Linked DNA regions of Homo sapiens: regions 1, 2, 4, 5 and 6 are each linked to region 3. Evidence: promoter capture Hi-C in 16 types of primary human blood cells and fetal thymus (Javierre and others, 2016). All regions are on one chromosome and are shown on one strand. Each heading gives the region's core, a stretch centred on a gene start or on the middle of the fragment in contact. The rest is flanking DNA. Distances are from core to core; before and after follow the strand shown.

Region 1 (4,560 bases), core at 758-3,257, 130 kb before region 3:
CATCTCTGGACCCTCTCTCCCTCCCAGGCTGCAGCCACAGACAGGCACTCTTACGCTCCCAGATGGCGGTGCTGGGAGGTGCCCCTCACCTTGGGCCTGGAGGCTCTTTCTTCCTATGCCCCTGGTGGAGCTGGGGGGACACCTCCAAGCCGCTAACATGTCACAGGAAATGCAGGGAGACAGGAAGATTGCATGGTCTAGAACTTCTCTCTGGGAGATCGCTGCACTTGTTTCAAAGGAAGCCCTGGACAAGGCCCTTGGGGTAAAACAACCCCAAGAATCATGCTCTTCCCCAGCCAATGGTTGGGAAGCTTTTTAAGGAGTCCAGGCCTACTAGCCTTGGGTCTTTCTGAAGGGCTGGGTTTGGGCTGGGACTGAACCTCCTGGGTCCATCAGGAGGGTCCCCCTTTCCCACCCTCTCCCCACTCAGCTCCCAGGCCCTCCCCGATACGGAAATATTAACTCAATTGTACATGAATATCAGTGTGTCATGCCCCCAGTCCTTAATCTCCCTGGAACCCCAAGTCCTTCACTTGCCCTGGGCCACCCCACATCTCCATCTAGGCCCAGTGACAAGCCCTTGTTTACTCTGAAAACCCAACTCAAACGGCAATTCCCTTGTAAATTCTCCCATAAATTTCCTTGTAAATACTCTTCCCAGGTAAATTCCCAGGGCATTCCCAGGAACCATCCATCCTAGACATCCCAATGGGAAAAGATTTGTAAGTGGGAATTCTGTTCCCCATCATTTGTTTGCCACTGACCAAAAGGATATGACTAGGTGTCCTTCAATTCTTAGAAAGCAACTGCTTCTATACGTAACCGAAACAGAAACAGAAACTTCAGCCTGCATAGTCCCTCTGGTGATAAGTTCAGCTTCCGGGAGGCAGGCAAGACCCAAGAAATAGTGTAGACTCAGTGTGACAGGTCAACTTCCATTTCTGTTGTGGAATAAAAAGTCCCTAGATTGTGGGCCCCATTAAGGGTACCATTCAAGGCCTCCGTCTCTCTCAGAACTTCTGGGGGTAGCAGTATTTGTTGGCACCTGCCATATGCCAGGCACTTTACAGTACAATGAGGGAGGCGATCCTGTTCCCACTTTAGAGAGAAGGTCGTGTAGCTAGAATGTGGCAGATTCCAGCCCTCCTCTGATATTTTCAGGCTCTAGACTAGAGCCTCAGGGAGGTCTCAGGCCAGAGAGGAGATAAGACTGCAAAGCATGGAAAACGGGACGCCTGAGCTAAGCCCTCAGTGGCAGGAGGAGCTGTACTGGGCAGGCTTCTCAGAGGAGGTGAGGTTCCAGCTGGTTCTCTGAGGACAGGAAAAGAGGAGGAACACATAGAGTCCATATGAAGGAAACAACTTAGGCAAAGATTGAGCAGAAAGAAACCTCACATAGCCGGGTGCAATGGCTCACACCTATAATCCCAGAACACTTTGGAGGCCGAGGTAGGAGGATCACTTGAGCCTAGGAGTTCAGGACCAGCCTGGACAACACGGTGAGATCCTATCTCTACAAAAACTAAAAGAAAATTAGCCAGTCATGGTGACATATACCTGTAGTCCCAGCTACTTGGGAGGCTAAAACAGGAGGATCGGGAGATTGAGGTTGCAGTGAGCTGCGGTCATGCCACTGCACTCCAGCCTGGGAGAGAACAAGACCCTGTCTCAAAAAACAAAACAAAACAAAACAAAGATGGAAATGGGTGGGACAGGTTTTTCAGGTCCCCCTCCCCAGTCCCCTTCCCCCATTGCCTGTCAGGAACTTCTCAAGCATTCATTTTTATAAATAGCTACCTTTTAAAAAGCAACTCCTCATGTGTGGGTATCAGGGCCTAACAGTCACTCACATTGTAAATTAATTTCCCAGCTGCTCCTGTCCTCCCTTGCTGGGGTAGCCTGAAGGGGGGGGGGGGGGTGGAACCAAGGAGACAGAGGCGTTGCTGCCAGGCCCCCGTGTGGAAGAGCCCAGGCACATGGGCCAGGCCCGTGGATAAGGAATGCCGGGCCTTGAGGCACAAACCTGGAGAGGGGAGGAGGCAGGAGGCACACTGTGGCTTTCTCCCCAGTGCCTGGCTCCTCACCTGGCATGTGGCGGGGCCTCCAGGGATGCTGCAAGAGGGACTTACTACCCTTTGGGAGTCTAAAATATGTGGGCAGAGTGTGGCTGGGCAGCCAGGGAACTGGGCTGCATGTTGAGACCAAACAGGGTCTTGGAGTGTCAGAGCTAGAGAGGAAGGGGTGGGCCCTTTTTGGTATTTTCTGATTGTCAGAGTCAGCTGATGGGTTGAAATAAGCCCAGGAGGCTTTGGACTAGGGCTTCCAGGCTCAGGGATTGACACTATGTGTCTCTGGCCTTCCTGTCCCTAGCCCTGCCTGTCCAGGCTGCGGCCCTGATTCAGGTAAATGTCCCACCAGGCTCCTCACCCTTGGAACGAGGCCTAGAGCTCAGCAAATGCTTCCCTTGAGGGTGTGAATGACCACAGGACAAAACTCCAGAGCCCATTGTTCCAAAAGTTCCAGAGAAATCCAAACAAATGCCCAACAACAATATGGGGGTGAGTAGCAAGTGCAGAAAAGTCCCGGGCTTTGTCCTTAGGCATCCAGACGTTTACGTTGTCTGCATTAATGAGCTAGGAAATGGTTCTTTTTACGCCAGTAATAACAACCACTCCTGTGTTCTCATTTAATCCTGGCAAAAACCAAGTAAGGCCAACATTATCATCCCAGTTATGCAGAGGAGGGGATTGAGGCTCCAAGAGGACCCCTGATTTCCCCACAGTTCCACGGTTAGTAGATAACCATGCTGGTACTTGAACCCAGGGTCCCGACTTCTCTCCTAGCTCAGTTCAGTGGATCTGCTGCCCTGATCCAGGGACAGGATTGGCTCCCAATGTGGACACAGCAGATAAGGAAGCAGACCCCTGTGAGGTGTCCAGGAGGCCAGGCTTGCCCAGCACTGCCTGCCCGGGTGCTGCTGGGGGAAGCCAGGTGCCCACTGAGTGGGGCTGGCCAGGTCACTGTCATCTCATCCACCGAGGCTGACCATGCTTTCTGCTATACAGTCACTCATTTTTCCTGGCCATGCAGCACTCATTCCTTCCCAGTGATCCCCTGGCCCTCCAGGGCTCTGAAATGAGGTATGCCCCAGGTCTTCCTCTCCCAGTCCAGCTCAACCCTGCTTGCCAAGCCTAGGGCCCTTCGCAGTGGTGGGAAAAAGGAGGCAGCCATGGATAAGACACTTGCAGAAAGTTAGCAATTGACTGAATCTCCTCAAACACTACAAGATTTTCATGGGCTAATATCTTCAGCAGAAAAAGAAAAATTGCTGAACTCATAAATTGTGATTTTGCATGCTCATCTATTTCCAGAGCGCCTTGCTAGATAACTAAGAGCTTGTTCTTTGATTATGGCCATTTAGTAAATGGGATCTAACAGGCTTGTTTTGAGTCTCACGAGCCTTGCAGTTTGCTCCAAGAAGCTGTCTGTTCCAGCGCTTCCATCTGGCAGATGGCCTCACTGTGATGCACTCAGAAGTCAGGAGAACCGCAGCATCAACAGAAGCACAATTAATCAGTGCAATTGTTTTCCCTGCTGTGAACATGACACTTCCCTGGGTTTTTGAGGGCAACCCACACAGGAAGGACCTAGTTTTGCATTCTCTATGGCATTCAAAACCATGTTGAGTGTCCAAGAAGCTTTTGTTTCTGACATTGGTCTTCCTGTTCATTCTCTATGTCCCTGAAAACACTGCTGCAGTCACCAACCAGGCCACCATGCAGGGCAGCAAAGCGCTTGGCCCTCCTTGTCCTGGTGGGGATGGCGGTGTTGTGTCTCACAAGGAGTCTGAAGTTACCTCGAGGTCAGCACCGATGAATGGTCCTGACCGGAGGCTGTCTGGATTCCGGGCTTTGCTAATTGTTATTTTTATGAGAAAATTACTTGTTTTTGTTCCTTGCAGACCAGAAGGAGGAAAACAACTTAAACTAGTAGCTGAACAGGAAGGGGAAGCCCATAGCTCCCTAATGAGATATCAGCTGAGAGCTGTGGATTTGTGGAGCCTCTGGAAGCAAAGGCCCGGGAGGCTGCGACTCCTTTAGAGCTGTTGGCCCAGCCCGAGCCAGGCCTTTTTTGGGAACCTGTGAATCTCAGGTTTTCAGTCTACAAAATGACAACTCAAAACCTGCTGAATTATGTGATCCTCAGGATTAAAAGCAGTTAGGGGCTTGGGGGGTCTCCCTGGGAAGAACAAGTAACAAAGAGACTCAAAGTACCACGGGTTGTGGTGGAGACAGAGGACCCCATGGTTAAAGAGGAGAGGGTGGTTTAAACACAGAAATTTATTCTCTCACAGTTCCAGAGGCCTGAAGTTCAAAACCAAGGTGTCAGCAGGCCCATGCTCCCTCTGAAGGCTCTCGGGGAGAATGCTTTGCCCCTCTAGCTTCTGGAGGCTCCGGGCATGTAGACCTACCCTAAATCCAGAAAAGTCTCATCCCAAGACCTTCAGCTTAATTATATCAGCAAAGACTGTGTTTCCAGGTAAGATCTTGTTCCCAGGTA
Region 2 (4,333 bases), core at 1,343-3,842, 140 kb after region 3:
ATTGTGTTTTATGACCATTTGTTTTTCATGATTTTTCTATTTTCCCATTTCGCTATTTGACTTGTTACTTTTATTCATAATGCTTTTCTATTTTCTTTATGTAGTCGTACTCCTGGAAGTCGTCAAGCCTCTCCAACTGAAGTAGTTGAGCGCTTGGGCCCCAATACTAATCCCTCAGAAGGACTGGGGCCTCTTCCTAATCCTACAGCTAATAAACCACTTGTTGAAGAATTTTCAAATCCTGAAACTCAGAATCTGGATGCCATGGAACAAGTTGGTCTGGAATCCTTACAGTTTGACTATCCTGGTAATCAGGTACCAATGGACTCTTCAGGAGCTACTGTAGGCCTTTTTGACTACAATTCCCAGCAGCAGGTAAAAGCATGTTCTTTCTTTAAGAAGGTCCTCTTAACTGTATACTGGTTTAGCCTGAAGTGCTATGTGGCATTGAAAAGAATGGTAGGGGTTTTTGAGTACTAAATGTTTTATTGATTAAAGTGTCCTGTATTTGAGAAAGTCCTCCCAAAGAAAAAATGTTTAAAATGTTTTATTCAGATTTCTAATTAGAAATGAAAGATTTTGACACTAATCTTTGTGTTAAATATTTTCCCTAATAGCTCTTTCAGAGGACTAATGCACTAACAGTTCAACAGTTAACTGCAGCTCAACAGCAGCAATATGCATTAGCAGCAGCTCAGCAGCCACATATAGGTGAGTCTTCATACGTTCTCATTTTGACCAAAGTCTTGTTAAAATGTCTAGGATGTTTCACTTTTCGTTTACTGATTGGTGAGGTTTTGTTACTTTTTGAAACATCTGAGATCAACAAGTAATAGGTTGTATGACAAAGGTGTTTATTAACTAGGGAATTGTTTCTGATTATTATTTGCATCACTGGTTTAATTAAATAAAAATCTGTAATTCGATAAAAGTTATTATCACATAAGTTTTTCTCCAATGTGAAGTTGAGAAAGTCAGACACTTGGAAATTCAAATTTACTTGTGTCCATTATCAAGTCAGTATGTTCATTTACATTTTTTTGTAAAATATTTTTTTCCATGAAGTTATTTGGTCTTTGACTTTTAATCTGCTAGAATTCAAGCTTGGTACATGATGTTGTCTGTACTAGGTCTCCCCACTACCTCCCACAATAATAATATGGGAATAACTTCCCTATACCCTTTACCCAGTTCCCCCTAATGGCTACACTTAAATTATTACAGTACAGTATCAAAAACAGTAATATGATATTGATGCAGTATGTATGTATAGTTTTATTTTATTTTATCAGGTGTAGATTTGTGTAAACATTTTTATGCCTGTCTGATTTTGTCTAAGTTTGTATGAAGACTGTCAACATCAGAGTCTATGGAAGGGGGTTGTCTTTCCTTAATGTCATATTCTTCTGTGTTAGTGCAATAAGGCTTCCTAAGCCCTAATTTTTATTTTTCAGTTTTTTTGTTTGTTTATTTTGGAGAGAGAGTCTCACTCTCACCCAGGCTGGAGTACAGTGGGGCAATCTCGGCTCACTTCAGCCTCCGCCTTCTGGGTTCAAGAGATTCTCCTGCCTCAGCCTTCTGAGTAGCTGGGATCACAGGCGTCTGCCACCACATCTGGCTAATTTTTGTATTTTTAGTAGAGACGGGGGTTTTACCATGTTGGCCAGGCTGGTCTTGAACTCCGGATCTCAGGTGATCAGCCCCCCCTCGGCCTCCCAAAGTGCTGGGATTGCAGGTGTGAGCCACCGCGTCTGGCCTATTTTTTGTTTTCATCAAAAATGTCAGGCTGCACAGTGGCGCCATCCTGAAATCCCAGCACTTTGGGAGGCTGAGGCAGGTGGATCACCTGAGGTCAGGAGTTTGAGACCATCCTGGCCAACATGGTGAAACCCCGTCTCTACAAAATTACAAAAATTAGCTGGGCTTAGCAGTGGGGGTCTGTAATCCCGTCTACTTGGGTGTCTGAGGCAGAGAATCGCTTGAACCTGGGAGACGGAGGCTGCAGTGAAGCAAGATTGCACCACTGCACTCCAGCCTGGGTGACAGAGAGAGACTCCGCTCAAGAAAAAAAAAAAAAAAAAAAAGTCCACATTTATAGGTGAGTGCCAGTCGCAGCATGTACTCTGGCCCCGTTTCTTTCCTCTTTTTGCCTCTCTTTCCTTTTTTCCCCACCCGCTTTATCCCTTGTTTGTCCTCTTATGTTAGAAATGTACTGCTACCTGTCTATTCATGGACAGCACAACGGTTTTTATTTCTCGAGGCTTTATATTATTAGGCAGGCTAATACATCTATTACTCTTCTTTTTTGGGGTTTTAAGTTTTTGGTTCTTGCTTATTTGCTTTTTTGTATGAACTTCAAAATTAGCTTATCTACTTCCAGAAGATAGGATTAAATGTTGTAATTTACTTAGGGAAATTTGACATCTTTATGCCATCAAGCATCAGGTTTTTTTTGTTGTTATTGTTTTTGTTGTTGTTTCTTTGACAAGGAGGTCTTGTTGTTTGACCCAGGCTGGAGTGCAGTGGTGCAGTCTTGGCTCACTGCAACTGCTGCCTCCCAGGCTCAAGTGATCCTCTCGCCGCAGCCTCCCGAGTAGCTGGGACCACAGGTGCACGCCACCACACCTGGCAAATTTTTTGTAGAGACAGGGTTTCACCATGTTGCCCAGGCTGGTCCTGAGCTCAAGTGATCCACCCACCTCGGCCTTCCAAAGTGCTGGGATTACAGGCGTGAGCCACCGTGCCCTGCTGACATCAAGTATTCTTGTCCAGGGTGTGATGTGTCTTTATTTTTGTTCAAGTTTACTGTAGTGTCATTTGAGTGCTTTAAAATTTTTCTCATAGGGGTTTGCATATTTCATTCTAAGTTTATTTTATGTATTTTATGTTTTGTTATTGTAAATGGCTTTCTTCCTGTCTTTCATTGTAGCTTTAAAGTGTTATCTATGAAAACTCAAGTACCATATATCAGATTTCATGAATGATATTTTAAAATAGTTGAATCGTCTTCCCATTCTTGGAATAAAAAAGACTTGTATATAATAATTATTTCTTTTAACATACTCTTTCAATTTGCTAGTATTTCATTTAGGATTTTTGCATCTATATAGTTAGATGAAATTAGTCTCTGTGTATCTGCAGTTTTTTCACGTTTTTTAGTGTCAGCATTCTTGCTTCACAAAAATAATTTTAGATACGTCTTTTTTTTTTTTTTTTTTTTTTTTTCGAAGACAGGGTCTTACTCTGTCACCCAGACTGGAGTGCAGTGGTACAGCCTCAGCTTCCCAGGCTGAAGCAATCCTTTCATCTCAGCCTCCCACATAGCTTGGGACTATAGGCTCGAGCCATGATGCCCAGTGAATTTTTTGTAGAGACGGGGATTCACCCTATTGTCCAGGCTGGTCTCGAACTCCTGGGCTCAAGTAATCCACCTGACTCAGCCTCCCAAAGTGCTGGGATTATAGACATGAGCCACTGCGCCCAGCCATTTCTTTCTTATTTTAATGCCTTAGAGTATTTTAATAATATTGGACTTACGTAATCTTTAAAGATGTGGCAGAACTTTCATGTGTGAGAAACCTAATATAAATAAATTTGAAAACCTAGAAAGCATAGTGTATCAAAATTGACCCCACATTTTAACTCAATTCCACAGTTAAGCAAATTCATTATTGACAATCTTTTTTATCCAAATTTGCCTGGTCACCTCTTAGCTGGCCAATAGCTCATTTAGAAAAGGACTAGTCGATAGAAATATGTATAATATGTACCATATAATTTGCAGTTATTTAGTAATCACATTTTTAAAAATTAAAAAATAGGTGAAATTAATTTGAATATTTTATTTAGCTCATATCCAAAATATTGCAAAATGTAGTCAATATGGAACTTACTAATGAGAATTTTTGCATTCTTTTCTTTATATTGTTTTTGAAATATAGCTGATCTCAAGTCAGCTTTGAATATAGCTGATCTCAAACTAGTCACATTTTAAATGCACAGTGACTATATGTGGAAAATTTTTAGAGTGTGAGTTGACAAATGTCTTCTGTACAAAAGGCTGTTGAATATTTAAAGCTTTGCATACCATATGGGTTTGGTCACGACCACTCCACTGTGCTGGTAAAGCATGAAAATGGTTATTAGATGATGCATAAATATTGCTATGTTCCAGTAAAACTTTACTTATGGGTGCTGAAATAGGAATTTCAAATAATTTTCATGTGTTTGAATTTTATTTTTTTGAACCATTTAAAAATATTAAAACTATTCTTAGCTAGTTTGTACAAAAATAGGTAAGACGCAGGCTTAACCCATGTACTTGGCCAGACAG
Region 3 (4,156 bases), core at 1,007-3,506:
TTTAAAAAATAAAAAACAAGACAACAATTTAGTAGAAGTACCACTGGGAGGGAGGGGAGGGGAAAAAAGGATATACAGGGGCAGGTGTATTCTCTGTACAGAGGTGCAGAGAAAATTTCACATAGCTTTAGAGAATGCCTTGTGGAAAAAAAAAAAATAGGCCCCAATACTTGTTACTGCCCTTTATCAAAACTGTGTGCATGACCTGCACAAATAAAATCACAAAACAGTGTTGCCACATTCTTCAAGGAAACAAAGCAAAATTTAGTGGGTTTCTTTTCCCTCTCCTTGTTAAAAGTCATTTTTTAAAAACATCAGAAGTAGATGAGGTTACAGCGTACAAGTGTGGTCAGAATGCTACTGTCGTATGCAAATGACGAGTGCATTAAGTGTCAAACAATGAAACAATTGTGCAAAGAATAAAAAAACAAATTTTAGCCTTTAAATAAATCAAATAACATCAGTTTCTTGGACTGAACAATTTTCACTTCTAGGACAGGCACAAAGTTCGCTTATGGCAAAAACAACCCCACAGCGCATCCTCCCTCCTCCCTCCGGTAGCTGGTGGAGGGTTCGCAGCGGGCTGGCCCGCAGGAGAGGCTGTGCTGAAGCTGTGTCCTCCCCAAGTCAGTTGCAAATGTCTTCCCCAGGGGTTGGAAAGATGGTCAAGTCCTGTTCATGCTTGGGCGGGAGTCTGGCCCAGCCTGGGCCAGAGCGCTCACCCATCACCACCCTTAAATAACACCATCTTAGCTCCGAAAATAAAATTATATCTATATTTATATAACATCCCCCCATCCTCCCCAGCAGCCCTCCCCTCCCGCAGTACCCGGGGTCTATGTTACAGACAAGGGATATCAAGCTCCCGCTGGTGAAGGGCGAACATCTGATGGGGCGCGGCCACACTCCCGCGCCAATCTCGCCCCCGGGGATCAGAGGCGGGGGTGGGGTGAAAATGGGGCGAGGGGAGTCGAACAGACACACAGCCACACACTCTGAGGCCCGGCTCTTCAGAAAAGCATGCTCAGGGGACCCTTGGCACTCAGTGGGGAGCCCAGGCCTGTGCAACACAGCTGGACGCACACAGACACTGGGATGGGGGCGCCCGGTGCCCACGCCAAGTCCTGGCGCAAGCCAGAGGCGTCAGCAGACAGATGCCAGGCAGGCCGGTGGGGTCCTTGTGGGACACGGGTCTCCCCTTCTCCGGGCTCGCGGGGGACTGGTCCAGGAGGGGGAGCCGTGCCGGCAGGGGCAGGCGCGACGGGCGCGGCCCTCATAGCACCTTGCAGCAGTTGATGCAGCCGTTCTGGGAGCCGTAGCGCTTCTGCAGCGCGGCGCGCGTGGCCGTCTCGAAGACCTCGCGCACGCCTTCCTTGGTCTTGGCAGAGCACTCGAGGTAGTCGTAGGCTTGGATGCGCACGGCCATGGCGCGGCCGTCATCCGTGCGCACGGGTTCCTGCTTCATGCGGGCCAGCTCTGTGCGGACATGCTCGTCGCTGCGCAGGTCTTTTTTGTTGGCCACCAGGATGATGGGCACATTGGGACAGAAGTGCTTCACCTCGGGGACCCACTTCTCGGGGATGTTCTCCAGCGAGTCCGGGCTGTCCACCGAGAAGCACATGAGAATGACGTCGGTGTCCGGGTAGGAGAGCGGCCGCAGGCGGTCGTAGTCCTCCTGGCCCGCCGTGTCCCACAGCGCCAGCTCCACCTGCTTGCCGTCCACCTCAATGTCGGCCACATAGTTCTCGAAGACGGTGGGCACGTACACCTCGGGGAACTCGTCCTTACTGAACACGATCAGCAGGCACGTCTTGCCACACGCGCCGTCGCCCACCACCACCAGCTTCTTGCGGATGGCCGCCATGAGCGGGCCGGGCCCGGGCAGCAGGAGGGGGCCCGCGAACGCCTCGCTGCCCTCCCGCTCGCCGCTCACTGCTCACCTCGGGCTGCGCGCAGGTGGCGAGAGGGTCGCTAGCTGCACCCGGGCCCCGCGGTGGCGCGTTCTCTCGCTGCGCTTCGGCTGCCGCGGCGGGGGCGGTGGGGGCGCGGGGGCATAGGGCGCACCGTGCGTCTCGCCGCGCTGCTCCCGGGCGGTGGTCGCTCTGCTCACCCCAGGCCGGGGATCGGCGGCTTTGTGCGTAACGCGGGCTCGGGCAGCAGACTCGGGCGGTGGACTCGGCCTAGCTCTCTCCCGGGTCTCTCCGGGCCTCGCTGAGCATACAAGACAACAGCTCCAACCAGACTGCGGTGGCAGATGAGGGCTGCGGCCCTAGCGCCCGCTATTTAAAGAGTCCGGCCACTTTCTTAATATAGCCGTCCAATGGGAAACCAGCCGGCTGAGCTCATCGCTGCGGAGCTTAGCTCTGATTGGCCGCCCCCTGCAGCCCGAGGGCGGGGCAGGGCCAGCTTGATTGACGGCCCAGGCCGCCGGGCTGGGAGAGGCAGCGACCGGGGAGTCCGCGCTGCTGCTGCCGCTGCGGGGCTCTGGCGGTACCCGGGTCCCCTCCTTCGCCGCAGCGTTTGCGCGCGGGGTCCGGGAGCTGGCTGTCTGGAGCCTCCAGGGTCTGGGCGAGCGGTTCCGAGACAGGCTTCACTCAGTGGGGCGTTGGCGACTCCCATTCAGAATTGCCCCTCTTCCTGGCAAACTCCCGGCGGGTGGTCGGGCCTGTGGGGGAGGGGCAGCTCTTTTAACGTGGTTTTGTTTTTAAATAAACAGACACACACACACACACACACACACACACACCCCACACACACACTTTTGTTCCCAAACAAGAGTGTTTTCTCTTTTCTTTTGGAGGTGGCCCCTCCTGTGGTTTAGGGCCCCACCCGGGTACTCGCCGTGGGCCAGCCTCGGGTTTGGACCCGAGAGGCGACCGGCTGGCTGCAAACTGGCTCTTCCAAGTCCCGCCGCCCCTACCCTTCCCAACCCCCAGCTTAGGTCTCTAGGTGAAGATTAAGGGAAGAGGTGCGGAGTGGCCCAAGCTTGACAACGGAAAGGGAAGGTCGAGGCTCGAACACTTGGAGGAAGTTACCGGACAGGAAGAAGCCCCTTCGGCCCCTCTTTTCACTATGAACTCTGATCCCGGTTCTTAAAACAGAGAACTGTCTGAGATAAATTGTACAATAGAATATACACTATTGTACAATAGAATGTACAATAGAATATACACTATTGTACAATAGAATGTACAATAGAATATACACTATTGTACAATAGAATGTACAATAGAATATACACTTGTACAATAGAATGTACAATAGAATATACACTATTGTACAATAGAATGTACAATAGAATATACACTATTGTACAATAGAATGTACAATAGAATATACACTATTGTACAATAGAATGTACAATAGAATATACACTATTGTACAATAGAATGTACAATAGAATATACACTATTGTACAATAGAACGTACAATATTCCGGGTTCAATAGAATCCAACCACCCCAAGACCCCTGAGCAGACGAAAAGGCTTGAGGCTGGAGAAGAGGGGAGGAGTAAGGGGCTAGCAAATGGGGCACAGCGGGTTAGGGGGTGTCCCCTCTATTGGGGCGTAGCCTCCTGATGCACGCCAGGACTGAACTCATTTATCCTGTAGATCCTGCATGAAATGACAGTACCGGTGATCCGGAAAGACCCAAGTCAACCGATTTCTACGGATAAAAGAGGAAGAAGGGGATAGGGGGAAAGGGGAGTCGGGGAGGGCTCCCGGGCAGGAGAAACAGCCTGAACACAAGCAGGAAGGTGGGAAGGAGCGGGGCAAACTCTAGGAGCTGCATATGCTGGGGCTCATGAGTGCTAAAGTATTAACAGCATGGGCTGGGCTCTGTCTATCCATTGCATGGGAAATGTCTGCAAACTGTTTTTTCAGCAAAGGAGGGACCCACCACATGACCGGGAGGTGGTTGCCTCCTGTCTCCGTCTCTGTCTCGGTCTCTGTCAGTTGTTGGAGGGCCAGGATTCTGTCTTATCTCCGCATCTTGAAGACCCAGCACAATGCCTGGCATTTACAAGGATCAGTAAATGACTGTGGGGAATTAACCCGAATGCTCAGAAACGCAGGTGGAATTTTCTGGGGGTTTCTTACCTCAGTTCCACACTTCGCTTTAACAATTATCTAACCAGGCCGGGCACAGTACCTC
Region 4 (4,028 bases), core at 792-3,291, 160 kb after region 3:
TTAAAGGCAATAAAATGTTCATGCTGCATTATCACTAATTTTACTGTAACTCTCACTTCTGCATAGTATTAACAAAATAAGACTTAAAAATTGATGTTGGAATGTATTTCAGTATAGTCTGTGTTTTTAAAAACTTCTTAAAGGACCAGACACAGTTGGGAGGCTGAGGCGGGAGGATCGCTGGCCCAGGAGTTAAAGACTAGGCTAGGCAACATAGTGAGGCCCTATTTCTGTAGAAAATAAAAATAAATTATCCGGACCTGGTGGCATGTACCTGTAGTCCCAGCCACTTAGGATGCTGAGGCGGGAGGATCATGTAAGCCCAGGAGTTTGAGGCAGCAGTGAGCTATGATTATGCCACTGTGCTCCAGCCTAGACAACAGAGCAAGACAGCACTCTTTAAGGGAAAAAAAAGTTGCCAATGCATGTTTTGCTGATAGTTGTAAGGTTATTGGGCCTCAGTTTTTTGTCGCTTTATAAGGCAGCCTTTCTAAACTGAGTTCCAGAAAAGAATAAAGCCTTATTACTGCTCTGAAGTATCCACAGTGTATATAGCTAACTTCTCTCCTGTGATTCCAGAGTGATGCTTGTTATATACCATCCTTAGGAGAATTAACAAAATACTTACTTAAATCATTTTCTGTGTTTTTGGTTCAACAGAGAATCTCCATTGAGAAAGGCTGCTAAGAAGTTAACTTTATTCTCCACTATTTGTGAAGATTACCTACCTTGTGCTTAAGGCTACAATAAAACTAAAGCCTGTGTGATTTTTAATTAAACTCTAGCTTGAGAATCTTCACAAATAGAATGTTTGGCTTAAGTTTTTAAAGAGATGATTACAAATGAAAATCTAACGGAATGCTGGTAATGAGGCACTTGATTTTGAACTTCAATGAAATTGCACAGTAAACATTTCGTACAGTGTTCTACCTCGCTACTCCCAGTTTTTTTAATCCTTCTTCTTCGAAGGGCTAAATGGTGATTTTTTTTTTCTAATATCAGCCCTTCCTTCATAGCCTGTAGTTTCTATATTAAGGAAAATACCTCTTCATTTTGTGGCCCCTGAGTAAAATTTAGAGAAAAAATGTTTAATGACAGTCTATTACTTTTTCATATATTTAGTAAGACCTTGTCAAATGTGTTGCTTTGCATATATTAACTAAGGATTTTATAGTAATGGTACAAATAGCTGTGTTGTCTAGTTGAAAAAATACAAATGCAGGGAAAAACAAATATGCATGTTTTTGTAATAAGTGCTTTCATTAGTAAACCTTTATTTTATTTAGGCTATCAAGTACTAGCTCCAACTGCCTATTATGATCAGACTGGTGCCTTAGTGGTTGGCCCTGGAGCAAGGACTGGCCTTGGAGCTCCAGTTCGGTTAATGGCTCCAACACCTGTTTTAATTAGTTCAGCAGCAGCACAAGCTGGTAAGTGTAACTGACATTTTTAGGATAATATTTTTCTGGTGTTGAGATACCATTTTTAAAATACAGAATTTTCTGGGTGGTTTAAAGAAGTATCTGAAATTTATTTTACAGCAGCAGCAGCAGCAGCTGGAGGAACTGCAAGTAGCCTTACAGGCAGCACAAATGGTCTGTTTCGGCCAATTGGCACTCAGCCACCACAGCAGCAGCAACAGCAGCCAAGCACTAATCTGCAATCTAATTCATTTTATGGAAGCAGTTCTTTGACTAATAGCTCCCAGAGTAGTTCTTTATTTTCTCATGGACCTGGTCAACCTGGAAGTACATCTCTTGGCTTTGGAAGTGGTAACTCTTTGGGTGCTGCTATAGGCTCAGCCCTCAGTGGATTTGGTTCATCAGGTAAGTTTGTTTTTACGATGAGTGTACTCTGCTAAGTGGAAGAGGTATATGAGTGTGTTTAACATTAAAATAAGCAATAATAGCATGTAGGATAGGAAGGACAGGAATAAAGTATTGGACTACTGGTTTAATTTGTAGGAAAAAAAAATCCTGCAAATCTTTTCAACACTCACCAATGTTTAACTCACTATAGGCAGCCTGTTCTTTACTCATATATAATACATTTCCTTTTTCCCTGGCTCTAGGAATTGATTACTGTAATTTTTGTTTTAGTAGGGTTTATTTGGGTCAATATATTATTCACTAATTATTAGCTCATCTTCATTCACTACATAATGTTTGTGGAGGCAAATATTTTGCCGTCTTAAATTTTTGGTATTTTAAAGCAGTTATCTTTGTGTCCTTATTAGATGGTTTATTCTTATTAAATGCTGGTAGTTTATTACAGTTTTTAAATTTGGCCTAATATAAAAAATACATATGTGTATGTATAAATACTGAAATGTTCTACACAGAATCCCCTAAGAAGCTACCAGTATGGTTATCTTTTAGATTAAATAAGTTAGCCTTTGTCACTAAAAATTCACTTAAAAGGGTATCTATTCATGTATCTTAGCTTTATATAACACTTAACAAATCAAAATTTTAAATAGCTTCACTAAATAATTGACCCACTCAAACTGGTTCCTGGATCCTGTGGTAGAGGAAGAACTAAGTGAAATCAGAAGAGGCCCACGTTGACTTCTTGTTGATACACTTGGTGTTTTCTGTGAGGTTTCCACAGTACTCAGGAAACATTAGGGAAAAAACAGCTGACCCAGTTCTATCGGTGCAGCTGGCAGCTTTTACTTCATGAGGATAGGACTATTTGGACCTCAAGAGATTTTCTGTTTCTATAACATAACTTGCTACAGTCCTTAATATCTGTTTCTGATCTCTTTTCTTACCACATCAAATTATATTCTTTTCTGGTGTGGAAAATGGCAGAACTAACACATGCCAGGCATTATTAACAATGCTTGCCAGTTTTCTAAGGGAGTGTCTTCTGAACTTTTATCATTCATATATACAGGAAGGATGGTCTAGAACAGCCACAAACTTTTAGATGGCAGAATCTTTTTTCATTTATTGTAATGAAATACAATAAGTGGATGTCATATTGGACTGACACAAAATTATCTGAAGACTGCTCATAAGAATTTCTGAGGGAAAATCCAGTGAACATGGGGATTGTTAAATCTTTTCAATTTTGTACTTGAGTTTTTTCATTGCTTTTGGAGTTGTGTATCTCTTTGTCCACCTCACGCACTCCCATAGGACTCATTCCTTGTTTCTAACACAATTGGGACATTTTCTCCAAAGAATCCTAAATATTCTGAGGAAAACTGGAAGAACAAGTAACATAAAAAACAAACTTGTGGAAATAGTTTTTAAATTATAAATTGTAGGCCCTAAATAATTCAGAAAAAAGAGAGCATTGATTAAACCCCATGTTTCCTTTCTCACGTAGTATGTCACTGATCGTCTGGTTCAGATTTCTAGGCCCCTACTCAATTCTTTCAAATTTCCATTTGTTTCTTAGTTAAGGCTGTTTTCCCCCTTTCAGGAATTGATTGACATGAACATTTTGTCCACTACAGATGCCCTGTTTCCCCAAAACTAACCTTCACACCTCCATTATTTACAAGCATGGCTTACTTAATTCTGACTCCAATCTGTAAGAGCTTCATTTTACCTTGCTTTAGAGAGCATTAGTGATTGCCACCCCTGAATGCCAGTAAAGAGTCCATCGTATCTCTCCTCTTGGGCATTTTGTGGGAGTTTTTTCAAGTGCTATATATATGGACTCTTACAAGTTTGCACACTGCCTTTTCACATTATGGCAATTACATACTTACATGAGCTCTAAAACATAATATGGTTGTGTGCCTGTATACACATATACAAGTAACATACACAGTCCTTCTCTTACCTCTATGATGAAATTATTAATGTTTAACAGTGTTAAATACCCCATTTTATGATATAGTTGGCCAAGAAGCCTAAACATCGTAACATATAATTTAAATCATCTTTTCTATGACCTGTTATTTTTTAAAGTGTTGTTACAATTGAAAGTTTATAATTTAGCCTTTTTTCACAGTCGATGAATGATTAGCAGTCTGTCTACCCTCTTAGATATTTTAGGTACACTTTGTTTCA
Region 5 (4,410 bases), core at 188-2,687, 200 kb after region 3:
CAGCCTCAACCTCCCAGGCTCAAGCGATCTTCCCACCTCAGCCTCCTGAGTAGCTGGGACAATAGGTATGCACCACCGTGCCCAGCTCATTTTTAAATTTCTTGGTAAAGACAAGAGTCTTGTCATGTTGCCTGAATTGGTCTCAAACTCCTGGACTCAAGTGATCCTCCTGCCTCAGCATCCCAGAGTGCTGAGATCACAGGCATGAGCCACTGTGTCTGGCTGGTCTTACCTATTTTTTGAGAAGGCATGAGGTCCTAGGCGGGAGGGAAAAAAAGTAATTCCTAACTCAAAGCCTTTAAATCTAGACAGGAATCAAGATTTCAAAACTAATCAGTGCCTTGGGCTTGGAAGGGAAAGGTAAAATGAAGAGGATGAGGGGATGGCTTTGGGGGATTGAGAGCAAGGTGGGTGCAGCAGCCAGTGCATTTTCATAGTCTTATTTATTGAGCAACTACTTTGCGTCAGGTTTCATTTTTTGTTTGTTTTGAGATAGAGTCTTGCTCTGTCACCCAGGCTAGAGTGCAGAGTGCAGTGGCACAATCTCGGCTCACTGCAACCTCCACCTCCCAGGTTCAAGCGATTCTGCTGCCTCAGCCTCCCAAGTAGCTGGGATTATAGGCGTGGCCCACCATGCCCACCTAAGCCTAATTTTTGTATTTTTAGTAGAGACGGGGTTTCACCATGTTGGCCAGGCTGGTCTTGAACTCCTGACCTCAAGTGATCCGCCCACCTTGGCCTCCCAAAGTGCTGAGATTACAGGCATGAGCCACCGTGCCCGGCCTGTGTCAAGTATTCTTGATGCTGAGGATACAGCCCTCAAGAGGTGCACACCCCAGTGGAGGGAGAAACAGAATGAGATTCTTGATACAAGCAATGCTTCAGTTAACAATAGGGGTCATCACAGATTCTTGAGCAGGTGAGTGACAAGTGCGGTGGTGTGGAGGACCCAGCACAGGCTGGCAGAGCAGCAGTAGAGAGGGACTGGAGGCAGGGGAGGTAGCAGTGCCAGTTACAGAGCTGAGGGGCTCCCCGAGACATGGGCGGAGTCTCATCTCTTTCTTGCTTTATTCCCACCCCTGGCCTTTTATGGCCAGAAGCCTTGGAAAGCCGGGTCACACCTGGTGGGCCCCTTCCTATGGCAGGGATGAGGACAAAAGCACGTGTATGGGCTCGCCCTGGAGAAGAGGAGGGGTGTCTGGGAGTCCTCTTCTGCCCTGCTCCTTCAAAAGTCAGTTCTGGTTTGAGCACTGGAGTCTGGGCTTGGAAGGCACCTGTGAGCAGAGGAGGGAGGGGGTCACCCCCCAGAGTTTGGAAGGGTGACAGCTTCATCTATATTCCATTACCCACCCTCTTCTACAGTAGGGTAGAAAACTAGAGAAGGGACCTGGAAGACAAAGAGTCAGCTTTGTCACAGGAAGAGGCAGCTGTAGACACAACGGCAGCCACCAGGTGACCTAGAGCCCTCCCCACAGGCCCAAGCCTGGCTCACGCAGCAGGGTGGCAAGGGCCTGGGGGCGGCCTTAGAAAGCTGCAAAAGTGGCTGTGCGCGGTGGTGATCCCAGCACTTTGGAAGGCCGAGGCGGAGGCTCGCTTGAGTCCAGGAGTTCGAGGCCAGCCTGGGAAACATGGCGAGATGCCCCTGCCTTCCCTATAAAAAAAATAAAAATAATTTTTTTTAAAAAAGCAACTGACCCGCCTGGGTGACGCCCTCAAGCCCCCCCCCCCCCGCCCTTTCCCCACCCGGGCTTCAGTTTGCTCATTGGGGCCTAATCCAGCAGGGCTGTTGCGAAGCTGCCTGGGAGACACCAAGGGGGACCCCCGCCCCGTCCGCCGAGAGCGCCCCCTGGCGGCCCGGCCCTCCCCTGCGCCGCGGGTCCGGGGGCCCTTCCCAGTCCAGGCGCGGCGCACCCTGGGGGATCCGTCCAGCTCCAGAAGTTTCTTCGTCTAAATTACTTGGAGTTGATCTTTCTAAACAGGATTGCTCAGACACACCCTGCCTTCTCGAACAAGGAAAGAACTCTACCCATCCCACTCAACTGCCATGTACGACCGCCTGCAGCCTCATCACAGGGCACTTCCCATAACATCCTACCACCGCGGACCCCAGGCCTCGCCCCTAAAGCCCGAGCCCTGACATCCTGCAGCCTGGAATCGCACATCTCCAGTCACGTGGCCACTGGCCCCGTTTCGCCAAACATGTCCGGAACCGAACCCATCTTCTTGCACCAAACCTTCTTGTGCTCTTCCTCTTCCCTTCCTGAACAAGTCGGCCCTAAAGCCACAGGTGGGGCGACTAAATTTTTTCGTATAAATAAATCCCAAACATTGCATAGGACATAATTATACATTTTATACTAAAAAAAAATGTTCATCTGAAATTCAAATTTAACTGGGCATTCTGTTTTTATTTGCTAAATCTGACAACCCTACTGCCCCTGTCTCTGGCCAGCCAGTTCCTCCTCGTCTCCTGGAGCCAGCCCTGGAGCTTCCCTAGACAGATTCCAGGGACAGCTCCTCCAGGCACAAGGTCATGATGGCGGTGATGGCAAATTATTGCAATGGCTTGTTTTCTTACGTTTCTCCACCCACACTGTGAGTTGTTGGAAGGCCAGACTGTGTGTTTCTCTCTCTTTACCCCAAAGCCTGAAGTTAGGTGCTTAGGTAATGCTCACCACTGTAAAGCCAGTAGGAAGTAAGCGCGTTTTTCTGTTTTGTTTTTTGTTTGTTGTTGTTGTTGTTTTTGAGATGGAGTCTCGCTCTGTTGCCCAGGCTGGAGTACAGTGGCGCAATCTCGGCTCACTGCAACCTCCGCCTCCAGGGTTCAAGCGATTCTCCTGCTTCACCCTCCCGAGTAGCTGGGATTACACCCGCACGCCACCATGCCTGGCTAATTTTTGTATTTTTAGTAGAGACGGGGTTTCACCATGTTGGTCAGGCTGGTCCCAAACTCCTGGCCTCGTGATCTGCCCGCCTCAGCCTCCCAAAGTGCTGGGATTACAGGCATGAGCCACCACGCCCGGCCCTAAACGCGTTTTTAAAGGCGGTGTCTCTCGGTGAAGAGCTGTCACACAATGGTGCTCTCAGGGGTCTGTGGGCCACTGTACCGAGGCCTACACTCCCAAGTTCATTGAGTTACTTTTGAAAAGCATTATACTTGAGCTAGTTTGCCCGCGGGTGTGTGAAGGGAGACAGTCAGTGTGGAGGCCACAGGGTACTCGCCACGATGAGCAGCACCCTAGCTAAGATCGCGGAGACAGAAGAGGAGATGGCTTGGACTCAACAAGGCCACAGCACACCACCTGGGGCTGCTTAAGGCTCGTCTTGCTAAGCTTCGTCGAGAACTCACTACTCCAAAGGGTGGTGGTGGTGGTGGAGGTGCAGAAGAAGGTTTTGATGTGGCCGAGACAGGTGATGCTTGAATTGGATTTGTTGGTTTTCCATTTGTGGGGAAGTCGACACTGCTTAGTAACCTGGCAGGGGTATATTCTGAGGTGGCAGCCTATGAATTCACTACTCTGAGCACTGTGCCTGGTGTCATCAGATACAAAGGTGCCAAAATCCAGCTCCTGGATCTCCCAGGTATTATTGAAGGTGCCAGGGATGGGAAAGGTAGAGGTCGTCGATCATTGCAGTGGCCCGAACCTGTAACTTGATCCTGATTGTTCTGGATGTCCTGAAACCTTTGGGACATAAGAAGATAATTGAAAATGAGCTGGAAGTCTTTGGCATTCACTTGAACAGCAACCACCGCCCCCCAACAATGGCTTTAAGAAGAAGGACAAGGGAGGCATTCATCTCACAGCCACTTGCCCACAGAGTGAGCTGGATGCTGAAACTGTGAAGAGCATTCTGGCTGAATACAAGATTCATAATGCCGATGTGACTCTACGTAGTGATGCTACAGCTGATGACCTCATTGATGTGGTGGAAGGAAACAGAGTTTATATCCCCTGTATCTATGTTAAATAAGATTGACCAAATGTTATGTTAAATAAGATTGACCAAATGTTATCTTATGTTAAATAAGATTGACCAAATCTCCATTGAGGAATTGGATAGCACTATAAGGTGCCTCACGGTGTACCCATCTCTGCCCATCACCACTGGAATTTTGATGACCTATTGGAAAAGATCTGGGACTATCTGAAACTAGTGAGAATTTGCACCAAACCCAAAGGCAATTACCAGGTTACACATCCTCAGTGGTACTTCCTTACTCCAGGACCACAGTGGAGATTTCTGCATGAAGATTCACAAAAATCTTATCAAAGAATTTAAATATGCTCTGGTCTGGGGTCTCTCTGTGAAACACAATCCTCAAAAAGTGGGTAAAGACCATACGTTGGAGGACAAGGATGTCATTCAAATTGTGAAGAAGTGCAACCTTTTCCTTTTCCCATCTACCGG
Region 6 (4,298 bases), core at 895-3,394, 250 kb before region 3:
TTGTAACTAGGAAATTCTAAAATTGCATATGTACCTTGCTTTATGCTTCTGTTGGACAGCATTAGTCTTAAACTTTACAATTGGTGCTGAACTATGATACCTGCTGAAATGATCCCTGCTGAGTGGCAAACTCTCATAGGACTCAGGAGCAATCCACAAGTGAAATACGAGATAACCCACTGGACTTAGAATGTCTTTATAAACCTTGATACATTTGACTTAAACTTTTCTACATTGTTAATTCTTAATTCCATAACCTCCCAGTACAATTATCTTAAAACGAGAAGTGTATATGTTCTTAAAATTTTTTTTTTAGAATATTGAAAATATTCACCCAGAGAGGACTTTTGAAAATGCCAGTGTTGTTTTGTCTCATGGCCATAGTGGTCATCATATTTCTGAAATAGCAGTTGGCTAGAGATTGAAATTTGGAAACCAGAAGGAAGCCCTCACTAGCCGAAGGGAGAGTGCTGGGGCCTCAGGAGGGCCCCCTCTCCAGGGCTTTCAGCTACTTCCAGTCACTGAGCGATGTGAAAATACAAGAAAAACAGTATTTTATTTTCCATTTAAACTGTAAGTGAATCTGTTTCAAAAATGCATTTAAGTTCTTCCAGGTTGGGAGTTCATAAAAACAGCTCAACTCTCAGTTAATAATAAGACTGGCAGATGCTCACTTCCAAAATTCACACTTGCTGAACAACTAGACCCATCATGTGTCAGAGTCTGCTTTACCACCTGTGGAAGCCAGCTGCTGTAAAATACTCATCATTTCTGGATTCAGCTTGTGTGTTGTGCTCAGAAAAAGGTCAAAGAAAGGTGCTAACTTATTCCTGTCCCAAGTGAAATCCATATGCAAGTGTAATCATTCCCAGATAGAGGGCTGTTCATGGTAATTATGTCAGGACTGTAAGTTTACTGAAATTTTATGGGGAAATACGGGGGTGTAATGGTAAATGGTAGACATTTCAAGGTTAGTATTAACACACAGTCACAGGAATAAACTTTTTCAACTCCAGGCAATAGTTTTGTTTTTGAGATAGCATTAAATATACTTCTAGAATATGGGGAAACAAAGCATTGTTTCATTTAATCATGCAAAACTACCTTGCAGTTAATTCATTATCCTTTCTACCAGCAAAATTCAAGCTCTCCACTAGAATAATACAATTACAGCTCCTAAGTGAAACTAGGTACAGAGAGACAGGAAGTTTATTGCAACTTTTTGTTTCTGTAATAAAAAGAGGAAACATGCTGTAATTTAATATTGGTAGAAGTTGAATCAACATATGTCCCAGTCTGCTTGAGAAAATAAGGAAACTTAAAAGTGCACATAGTTCTAGGAAGATAGTGGGCATTGCTTCCTGCCTTCCAAACACCCCCGATAACTGGTCAAACTAAAACCAATGCCCGGGATTAGAAATATTCCTATTTAGGTATCTTAATCGAGGATACTCTTTCCCATTTCCACCCAAACAAAGGCGTTCAGAAACTTCAGAACTATCCAGGACTGTCCAGTGTGAATAGTCATCAAGCCACACATTTTGTTGAAAAATCATTTCCTGTATCTCAGCTATTCAACTAAAAATAGTTCTGAAAAATATATCTTTGTGCCATCCAGCCAGAATGCCACAGGAAAGTTAGTCTAAAAATAAGCTTTCTACTGTATCATGCAGACAGCATTCTACTTCTTTCTCCTCCCCAAGAGAACTATCATACCATAATCTACAGGCTTTGGTTCTAAATCCAAATTTTCTACCACTGGATTTCCATTTGACACAAGAAGAGAGCTTTTTATATGCTTGAGGAAAATGGGCATTTTTAGCTCTAAAAGATCTGTTGAGCTGATTATCCTCCTTCTGAGGTCCAGTGACTTTATACACAGTATTGGACATAAAGTAATTTATTTTATTAAAATAATTTTTCTTTCCTGGAGCAAATATAACAGACTCATGGTTGTTTCCAAAGGAGTATACCATGGTTTATGGCATCATAGGTTATTTCTTTTTCCTTTTTTTGTTTTTTTGAGACAGAGTCTTGCACTGTCGCCCAGGCTAGAGTGCAGTGGCACGATCTCGGCTCACTGCAACCTCCACTTCCCGGGTTCAAGCGATTTTCTTGCCTCAGCCTCCCGAGTAGCTGGGATTACAGGTACCCGCCACCATACCCAGCTAATTTTTACTAGAGACAGGGTTTCACCATGTTGGTCAGGCTGGTCTCAAACTCCTGACCTTGTGATTTACCGGCCTCGGCCTCCCAAGGTGCTGGGATTACAGGCATGAGCCACTGCGCCCGGCCTATAGGTTATTTTGTCATTTGACTAAATCCTGCTTGTCTAGTGTCATCCCCAAGAGGCCTTCCCAGTCCTTGGTTTTGGTTAGATGTTACTCCCTATGTAAAGTTATATTGCATTTATCACACAGTATTTAAACAATCAACCTTCACCTTTCCCCACGTTGAGGTAAGGAGCTGTGTCTTCTTCGTCTTGATGTCCCCTAGGGCCTAGCATAATTCATACCTGGTAAACAGTCAGTAAATATGTGCTAGACAGATGGATAGATGGGGACGCCATTAACTAGAGTGTGGATTCTAAACCTTTTTTGTGCCATGCATCTCTTTCGCTCTCTCATAAAGCTTTTGGATTCTACTCACAATGATGTTAAGTGCATAAAATACACAAGATTACAAAAGAAAGAAGTTGTTGGATAATGAGATATAATAGCAGTCAGAATTTTTTTTTAATTTGTAATGATAAGTATAATGTTTTAGTTACCTTGAGCAAGTTAGTGTGATTTAAAAATACTTATCATTTTTATAGATGACAAAATATAGGCATTACTAATATTGTAGCTTGTTGCCTGTATTCCTAATTGAAAGAAATACTAAATTTTGGTTAGAGATTAACAAAAGTAAACATGTAAATTTTTCCAAAGTTTACATAACCCCTTCTCCAAACCTCTGGACCTGTACACCGCAAGCAAAGAAGCCCTGCGTTAGAGAAACTAGAAAAGGTTAGGTAGCATGATGTTGTGGCTTAGGCACTGGCCTGAGAACAAAAAGTCATGATATGCCACACTGAAGAGACTGTTTTGGGGAGCTATTGAAGGGTCTAAGCATGGGAGTAACAGGGTGACAGTCAAAACATTTGACAACCATGTGATATAGGGATTGACCAATCAGAATGTATGCCAGCTATGAACAGCCAGTTCAGGGGCACCAGTTCATATCAGTTAGCCCTAGGAATTTGGTGAGATTAACAAATGAGAGGGATTATCTTGAGGGCAAATGTGTGGTATAATACTAGAAAAGGATGAAATATGAGTTGGGGAGCCTGTTTACAAAGCTTTTATAAGAACTAAGGCATTGGGATTGAAGATGGAAAGATTTAGGAGATAGAATCAAAGGTACTGAGTACTAACAGGATATTGGGGAATGGAGATGGAGGAATCTAAGATTATTTCTTTGTATCTGGACTTGGTAATAAGACAGGGAATATGGGAAGAGAAGCAGCAGCAAGTTATGGGAGATGGCTGAACAAGTGGTTCATTTTGGTACTTGTATTTGAGATGCCAGTGGGACATGCAAGTGGATCCGTGTCTGGCAGGCCCTGGATGTATGGGTGTAAAGCTTAGAAAGATATTTGAGGCTGACTTTTGGTTGGGGAGTGATGAGGCTGTAGTTAAAGCCAAGAGCATGGGTAATAGCAGCCTAAAGAAGTATACAGAATAAGGAGAGAAGACTTCTAATGATTGATCATTAGGGAACCCAGCTTAAGGGTTGGGAGGAAGACGAGGAGCCACTGAATGAATAAGATGGGAGGGGAGGTAAGAAGGGTGGGAAGGAGAACCAGGATGAAATAAACCAAGGGAAGAGAATCAACTGTGCGTTTTCGCCACCCCAATCCCAGTTTGTCTGGAAACCTCTGGAGTATTCTCTGTTTCATGAGGCACCTGGTGTGTCAGAGGCAAATAAGAGGTCAGCACTCCCTTGTTCTGTCACTGTTCTAAGCCATAAGGGATGCATGTCTCATTCATTGAAAAGTGAACTCATGTTTGGTTTATAAACTTGAAGTTTTCATTTCAAACCCACTTAGGGGGGGAATTCTAAACTGCCATGACCACGTTTGGCCCAGGCTTACGGAAACAGCTGGTGTGTGCTACTGCCAGACTGAATCTGAGCATCACTATCAGTAAGTAGGAATCTGAAATTGCTCCAAAGAGAACACATGAAGTGCAGCTTTCAGATGAAGTTAGGCAGTGGTAGGGGGGCTGCCTGTAAGGTGGTGCTGCCCCTGCCCCCAG

The links. Contacts are between HindIII fragments. The CHiCAGO score rates a contact against its expected background, and 5 or more counts as called.
Region 1: a contact is called between a fragment that was not itself captured here and the fragment with the promoter of RHOB in region 3, in 12 of 17 cell types (endothelial precursors, total B cells, naive B cells and 9 more). The highest score is 27.3, in endothelial precursors.
Region 2: a contact is called between a fragment that was not itself captured here and the fragment with the promoter of RHOB in region 3, in 1 of 17 cell types (neutrophils). The highest score is 5.2, in neutrophils.
Region 4: a fragment that was not itself captured here is called in contact with the fragment with the promoter of RHOB in region 3 in 1 of 17 cell types (neutrophils); the score reaches 6.3 in neutrophils.
Region 5: a fragment that was not itself captured here is called in contact with the fragment with the promoter of RHOB in region 3 in 1 of 17 cell types (neutrophils); the score reaches 5.5 in neutrophils.
Region 6: a contact is called between a fragment that was not itself captured here and the fragment with the promoter of RHOB in region 3, in 1 of 17 cell types (naive B cells). The highest score is 7.2, in naive B cells.

The regions. Positions count from the first base shown.
Region 1 is chr2:20,573,119-20,577,678 of GRCh38, reverse strand. It overlaps a transcript of HS1BP3 not described here. Among named protein-coding and RNA genes, the nearest start is that of HS1BP3-IT1, 17 kb to the left of the region's middle. RefSeq lists enhancers at 768-907, 2,015-2,515. The HindIII fragment of the contact is 3,387 bases long and covers 314-3,700 here.
Region 2 is chr2:20,304,356-20,308,688 of GRCh38, reverse strand. It overlaps PUM2 (pumilio RNA binding family member 2), which reads left to right. Exons shown (of 21, transcript NM_015317.5): 6 at 105-375; 7 at 618-711. Among named protein-coding and RNA genes, the nearest start is that of PUM2, 44 kb to the left of the region's middle. The HindIII fragment of the contact is 2,974 bases long and covers 1,106-4,079 here.
Region 3 is chr2:20,445,174-20,449,329 of GRCh38, reverse strand. RHOB (ras homolog family member B) reads right to left here and starts at 2,256. Exons shown (of 1, transcript NM_004040.4): 1 at 1-2,256. The coding sequence starts at 1,864. The coding sequence ends at 1,274. RefSeq lists silencers at 1,838-2,047, 2,298-2,547. The HindIII fragment of the contact is 3,675 bases long and covers 1-2,987 here.
Region 4 is chr2:20,280,745-20,284,772 of GRCh38, reverse strand. It overlaps PUM2 (pumilio RNA binding family member 2), which reads left to right. Exons shown (of 21, transcript NM_015317.5): 11 at 1,287-1,430; 12 at 1,542-1,826. Among named protein-coding and RNA genes, the nearest start is that of SDC1, 58 kb to the right of the region's middle. The HindIII fragment of the contact is 9,280 bases long and covers 1-4,028 here.
Region 5 is chr2:20,239,863-20,244,272 of GRCh38, reverse strand. It overlaps the pseudogene DRG1P1. Among named protein-coding and RNA genes, the nearest start is that of SDC1, 17 kb to the right of the region's middle. RefSeq lists silencers at 1,728-1,957, 2,992-3,138. The HindIII fragment of the contact is 3,794 bases long and covers 1-3,334 here.
Region 6 is chr2:20,696,405-20,700,702 of GRCh38, reverse strand. All of the region lies in intron 6 of LDAH (lipid droplet associated hydrolase), which reads left to right. Among named protein-coding and RNA genes, the nearest start is that of GDF7, 31 kb to the right of the region's middle. The HindIII fragment of the contact is 978 bases long and covers 1,656-2,633 here.